Regions from separate parts of the Homo sapiens genome. Here region 1 is linked to region 2. The links are contacts of gene promoters, found by promoter capture Hi-C in human tissues and cell types (Jung and others, 2019). All regions are on one chromosome and are shown on one strand. The core of a region is centred on a gene start or on the middle of the fragment in contact, and the rest is flanking DNA. Distances in the headings are between cores, read along the strand shown. Region 1 has its middle 32 kb from the start of FZD5. Region 2 holds the start of PLEKHM3 (pleckstrin homology domain containing M3).

The links. Contacts are between HindIII fragments. The study calls those that stand out against the background at their distance.
Region 1: a contact is called between a fragment that was not itself captured here and the fragment with the promoter of PLEKHM3 in region 2, in 1 of the 25 tissues and cell types used here (H1 embryonic stem cells).

Annotation. Positions count from the first base shown.
Region 1 is chr2:207,800,224-207,803,825 of GRCh38, reverse strand. No RefSeq gene overlaps it. Among named protein-coding and RNA genes, the nearest start is that of FZD5, 32 kb to the right of the region's middle. RefSeq lists enhancers at 1,130-1,629, 1,630-2,131. The HindIII fragment of the contact is 9,526 bases long and covers 1-3,602 here.
Region 2 is chr2:208,023,842-208,027,230 of GRCh38, reverse strand. PLEKHM3 (pleckstrin homology domain containing M3) reads left to right here and starts at 1,704. Exons shown (of 8, transcript NM_001080475.3): 1 at 1,704-1,842. The HindIII fragment of the contact is 4,894 bases long and covers 393-3,389 here.

The sequences.
Region 1 (3,602 bases), core at 498-2,997, 220 kb after region 2:
TCAAAAAACAAAAAACAAAAACAAAAAAAAGAAAACAGAACTTAAATTGCCAAAAATATGTGAAAAATACAATGGAATATTTTGCAGTACATAGTTAAAAAGTTAACATAGAATTACCACATGATCCAGCAATTCCACTTCTGAGTATATACCCTAAAGAATTAAAAGCAGGGACTCAGTTATTTGCACACCAATGCTTATAGCAGCATTACTCGCGCTAGCCAAAAGACAGAAATAACCCAAATGGGCTGGGCGCGGTGGCTCACGCCCGTAATCCCAGCACTTTGGGAGGCCGAGGCAGGCGGATCACCAGAGGTCGGGAGTTCGAGATCACCCTGACCAACATGGAGAAACCCGTCTCTACTAAAAATACAAAAAAATTAGCCAGGCGTGGTGGCACATGCCTGTAATTCCAGCTACTGGGGAGGCTGAGGCAGGAGAATCGCTTGAACCCACGAGGCAGAGGTTGCGGTGAGCCGAGATCGTGCCATTGCAGTCCAACCTGGGCAACAAGAGCACAAAACTCTGTCTCAAAAAAAAAAAAGAAATAACCCAAATGTTCATCAACAGATGAATGGATAAACAAAATATGGTGTATATATATTATGTATGCATATATGTATGTTGTGTATATATTATGCATACATATATGTATGTTGTGTATATATTATGCATACATATATGTATGATGTGTATACATTATACATCATATATAATTATAATATATATATATTATTCAGCCTTAAAAAGGAATGAAATTTGGACATATGCTACAATAGGAATGAACCTTGAAGACATTATGCTAAACTAAGCTAGACACAAAAAAACAAATACTGTAGGTTTCCAGTTATATGAGGTACCTAGAGTAGTCAAATTCACAGAGATGTAATAGAAAGTGAGTGGTGATTGCCAGGGGTGGGGAGGGGAAATGGGGATTCCACGTTTAATGAGTACAGAGTTCAGTATGGGATGACGAAAACGTTCTGGAAGTGCTGATGACGACGGTTGCACAGCAGTGTGAATGTACTTAGCCACTGAACTATCACCTAACAATGGTTAAACGGTCAATTTACTGTTATGCTTTGTTTTATCCTACCACATTAAAAAGAAATATTTTCAAACTTGGATTCCAAAAGAACTGTCATTTTTCCTACCTTTAATTACACTTGAGGAATATTCTTTCTTCCTTCTCATCATTGAACTTCTTCCTTGTGCCTTTTCTATGAAAAATACAAGGGAGCTGGGGCTCAGTGGCTCATGCCTGTAATCTCAGCACTTTGGGAGGCTGAGGCGGGTGGGTCACCTGAGGTCAAGAGTTCGAAACCAGCCTGGCCAAAATGGTGAAACACTGTCTCTACTAAAAATACAAAAAATTAGCCAGGGGTGTGGTACATGCCTGTAATCCCAGCTACTTGGGAGGCTGAGGCAGGAGAATTGCTTGAACCTGGAAGGTGGAGGTTGCAGTGAGACGAGATTGCGCCATTGAACTCCAGCCTGGGCAACAAGAGTGAAGCTCCGTCTCAAAAAAAAAAAAAAAAACAACCAAGTGAGGCCGGGCGTGGTGACTCACACCTGTAATCCCAACACTTTGGGAGGCTGAGGCAGGTGGATCATCTGAGGTCGGGGGGCTCGAGACCAGCCTGGCCAACATGGTGAAGCCCTGTCTCTACTAAAAATACAAAAATTAGCCTAGCGTTTTGGTGCCTGCCTGTAACCCCAGTTACTCAGGAGGCTGAGGCAGGAGAATCACTTGAACCCAGGAGGTGGAGGTTGCAATGAGCCGAGATGGTGCCATTGCACTCCATCCTGGGCAACAGAGCGAGACTTTGTCTCAAAAAAAAAAGAGAGAGGAGAGAAAATGGAAGTGGGGAAAGAAGAAAAGAAAGAAAAGACCACTGCTCAAAGATGGGGCAGAAGGACACCTGAAACAGGAAGCAGAGATGCCTTGGCATTTAAATGAAAAAACCTAAAGATCGCTGATCCCATGTGATGGGCAGGCAGAACTTTGCATCCTCTGGGACAAAATGGGAAGAGTTTTCCAGTTGTGGGCATCTCTCATTTCTGAATAAGAGAAAAATGGGCTAGAGAGAAGAGGGGGTGGATATGAAGGGAGGCAAACTGACAACGCAGGACAGGACAGGACATCGCTTGAGTGGCGTTCAGGCCAAATAAAGAAATAAAAATAAAAACTTGCCTAATGCTTTTTTGGTTTTCCTGCTGCTTTACAAACACCAACTAATGAATTCACCTGTCTGGGACAGCCCCTCTAGAGGGAGGTAAATAGTTACAGGCTCTTAGACCCTATCTGCTAAGTAAACGAGCCACACAATGGACTAGAAGTTCCACGGCTTGTGTGGTGAGAGGTTGCAGAAAATTAGTTAATTGCATCATGTCTGCAGCTGATAAAGCAGGTCTAGTGGGTGGCATATTTTACAGTGACACAGTTTCAGGTGGAAGCTGAAAATTCAAATCGCTGCTTCTCTAAGAGATTTGAGGCTCCAGGATCTAATCCTGTTAAAACTTAGGCTCCAAATGAAGAGAAACCTGAGGAACTGGGGTTGGTGGGGGGCGGGGTGGGGGAGCAGAGCTTCCTGTTAAAGGCAGGAGCTAATGCAACCATTATCCTGGATGTTTAATTCAAAAGGCAACACAGATGCATGCACAAGAATCTGTTTTGTCTCACTCTATATCCAGAGGTCCTCCAGCAATGACCCTTCCCCCATTATATGTACACTCCTCCCTTCCAATGTGCTTAATCATTTCTTTTAACTTTTTATTATAGAAAATTTCAAAAACACATGTGAACTCCCCACCCCATGTACCTGTCACCAGCCTCAACAACTATCAACTCATGGTGAATCTTGTTTCATCTAAACCAGTGTTTCTCAAGCTTGAGTGTGTATCAGAATCAGCTGGGGGGAGCTTGTTGAAACACAGATCGCTGGACCCCATCTCAGATTTTTTTTTTTTTTTTTTTTTGAGATAAGAGTCTTGCTCCGTCACCCAGGCTGGAGTGCAATGGCATGATCTTGGCTCACTGCAACCTCTACCTCCCAGGTTCAAGCGATTATCCTGCCTCAGCCTCCCCAGTAGCTGGGATTTACAGGCACGTGCCACCACGCCCGGTAATATTTTTTTTTTTTTTTTTTTTTTTGAGACAGGGTCTCTCTCTGTCACCAGGCTGGAGTGTAGTGGCACAATCTCGGCTCACTGCAACCTCTGCCTCCTGGGTTCAAGTGATTCTCCTGCCTCAGCCTCCCTAGTAGCTGGGACTACAGGCATGCACCACCACGCCCAGCTAATTTTGTACTTTTAGTAGAGACGGGGTTTCGCCATGTTGGTCAGGCTGGTCTAGAACTCCTGACCTCAGATGATCTGCCCGCCTCGGCTTCCCAGAGTATCGGGATTACAGGTGTGAGCCACTGTGCTTAGCCCCTTCTCAGGATTTCTGATCCACTAGGTCTGAGGTGGGACCTGAGAACTTGCATTTCAGACAAGTTCCCAGGTGATGCTGATGCTGCCCTTTGGCAACCACTTTGAGAACCACTGATCTGTATGCCTAGTCACTTTTCCTTTCTGGTATTATTTTTCTCAAAGCCAAT
Region 2 (3,389 bases), core at 455-2,954:
GCCTCCCTAAGTGCGTGGATTACAGGCACGAGCTACCACACCCGGCCTTTTTTTTTTTTTTTTTTAGAGTGAAAGTTTATTAAAAAGCTTTAGAGTAGTAATGAAGGGAAGGAAAAGAAGAAAAGAACACTTGGAAGAAGACCAAGCAAGTGACTTGAGAGACCAAGCACCTGTTACCTGCTTCTTAAAGAGCAAAGAGAAATTAGCCAGCCTAAGTAAGAGGATGGGCCAGGAGTGAGAACTCTCATCAGAGGGAATCACATGTACAAAGTCCTGAGGCAAAAGAGAATACTGCAAATATTCTCTTTTGGTAATTAAAACAAAACAAAACAAAAAATGTACCTCTGGCCAGGTGAGGTGGCTCACACCTGTAATCCCAGCACTTTGGAAGGCAAGGAAGAAGGATTGCCTGAGGCCAGGAGTTCAGGATCATCCTGGGCAACACAGGGAGACCTTGCCTTTACAAAAAAAAAAAAAAGAGAAAGAAAGAAAAAAGAAGTTAGCCACGTTGTGGTGATGCGTGCCTGTAGTCCTAGCTACTCAGGAGGCTGAGTTGGGGGGATCCCTTGAACCCAGGAGTTCAGGGCTGCAGTGAGCTATGATCGTGCGACTGCACTCTGGCCGGGGCACAGAGTGAGATCCTGTCTCTAGCAAAACAGAAAAAAAAGTACCTCAAATTGCAGGGTTTAAAGAAAGCTTATTTAAACTTTGAATATCAACCAAAGGAAATTTTTTCTTAACTCAAAGCTTAAAGATTTGCTTATTAATCTTCTGGAGGGTGGGAAGGTGGGAAGAGGAATCAGAGTTTTAGATTTCTGTTTCATCCCTGACCCCTTTGACCTTTTTTTTTTTTTATCATTCCTTTGTTCATTCATTTATTCAGATATATATACATTGGGCCTGTGCTAGGTGCCTACTAGATGGTGGTGAGTGAAACTGAAATAGTGCCTGCCCTCAGGGAGTTTATAGGTGAGATGGGTGAGCGTGGGAAAACCAATAAAACTGATAAATAAGTGTGTACTTATAAAGTGAGAAAATGGCTAAGAAGTGTGCTATGATGGAAAACAGACAGGAAACTGCAAGGAAGGTCTGTCCAATCAGACCAGCATATCCCTGCAAAGCGACCACAGTCACTGCAGGTGGGATGTGGGCGGTCTTACCAGGCAGTCCTGCCCGCGTGCACACACACGCACACCCTATTTTGCTGGGAATCCGCAAGTGGGGGTGAAGACCTCACCTCAAAACCACCCCTTTTCAACCTGCGTAGGAAAGGACAGTGAAAACGGATTTTCACTGCAGCCCCAAAACCGGAAATGAGAAGCAATCTCCAGAATAGTCCCACTTTTGGAAAGAACTTATTTGAGTAATTAATTCCCTTAGACAAGGGAGCTGCTAAAAACCAGCCCGATCCTGACATGTTCTAAGTGACATTTTCCAATCGCAAACACCCATTTTGGCGTTGGGTGGAGCAGTGAGGAGACTCCACGACACACGCCATTGCTTTCACAATGTGTACAAGAGGAACTGTATATAAGAAAGCAAAGAAATAAGGAGGCCTGGCGGGTGCGGTCAGGCCTTGCCTAGCTGCCGGGTCCCTCGGGCAGGAAAGACTCGTCCTCGCGGCCTGGAACCTTGTGTGTCCGGCTCTGGCTGCCCGGGCCGCCGGCGGAAGCATTTCAGAGTGGGACCGCGAGAAGCCGCTTGTAAACAGAGCCGGGCCGGGATGGTCAGCGCCCGGGCGGGCTGTCACCGTGAGGCGGGCGGCAGGCTGCGGGAGTCAAGCCCCTCCAGGAGCGGACTGAAGGCCCCGCAGGTGAATGGAGAGTAGCAGCCGGGGCCCAGGTGAGCATCCGTCTGCTTCTGTGCTGCCTGGCCGGCCAGTTTGGGGGATGGGGTGGGGACGACTGCATTGTAAATATCCGAGCAGCTCCCAGGGATAGCAGTGATTTTGCTGTTTCTTGCATGCTCAGGTTTTTATTACGTGCTGGAGATTGTACCACACTGCAATGGCTAATGGGTGAGGGGAGATTACATGATGCATTGTCTGCTTATTTTTGTGAATCAGGTATGTAATAGGAGGAGAAAGTAGTTGAAATAGTAGGTGATCTTGTTGAGTGCGTTATTAGTATCCCTGCCATCCCCGCCTGGGGATTATAAAACCAAACCCCAGCAGAGCTTTTAACCTACATCAGGCTGGGGCTTCCAGAAAACGATTGTTCTTTCTGTCGACTCTGTCCGTTTTTAATGTATAGTAAATGACACCACATGACTGATGACAAGCATGGTTTGGTCTTGTAGGAAAGAATTATTAAGCTAAAAAATCAAGATAAGAAAATCTCACACTCATCCCTTAAACAAAAATAAATTACTACTGAGATATATATTTGGATGACAAATTGAGACTGGTCTGGATGTATACCTTGCAAAGCAAGACAAATTTGAATTTACCAGGTTAAACTGAGATTGAGCCATGCTGTTGTAAACTTATTTAGAAGTTTATTTCTCTCTTCTTTTTTCTTCCTTGGAAGGGACCAGAGAGAAACAGCTGAATTTTTTTCTCTATATTTTAAGTAATCGTAGTGAGTTGTGATTTGTATTTATAAAGTATTTTATTATAAAATACTACATGTAAATTATAATTGGCATACTTAAAATACAAGGCAGTTTTTGACTGACTGACTTCAAGAAAATGCCTTAACAAAAGCTGGGCTATATATCTAGTCTCTAAAAATATCAGTAGACATTTGTAACCTTGGTCACATAGTCTTTTAGACAGGAGATGAATATTAGGTTAAATTGCACCTACAATAGATAGATATACATAGAAGAAATGATACTAATTCCTGATGAGTTTTTCTTTACAATGAATATTTTTACAATGTCATGGTTTATAGCAAAAACTATAAAGCCAGACTACTTCAGTTTGAATTCCTGCTTGGTCACTTCCTAGTTGTGTAATCTTGGGCAGTTTACTTAGCGCTTCTGTTTCCTAATCTGTAGAATGGGAATAATAATAGTATTGACCTCATTAGGGTTTTTATTATTGTTATTTTATTTTATTTTATTTTATTTTATTTTATTTTATTTTGAGACAGGGTCTTACTCTGTCATTCGGGCTGGAGTACAGTGGCGTGATCATGGCTCACTGCAGTCTCGACTTCCTGGACTCAAGCGATCCTTCCACCTCAGCCTCCCTTGTGGCTGGAACCATAGGCACAAGCCACCACGCCTGGCTAATTTTTGTACATTTGGTAGAGACAGGGTTTCGCCATGTTGCCCAGGCTGGTCTTGAACTCCTGAGCTCAAGGCTTAGAACCGTACCTGGCATATAGTAATTGCTATATACATGTTTGTTAATAAATATATAAAATAAAAATATGCCAGTGTTG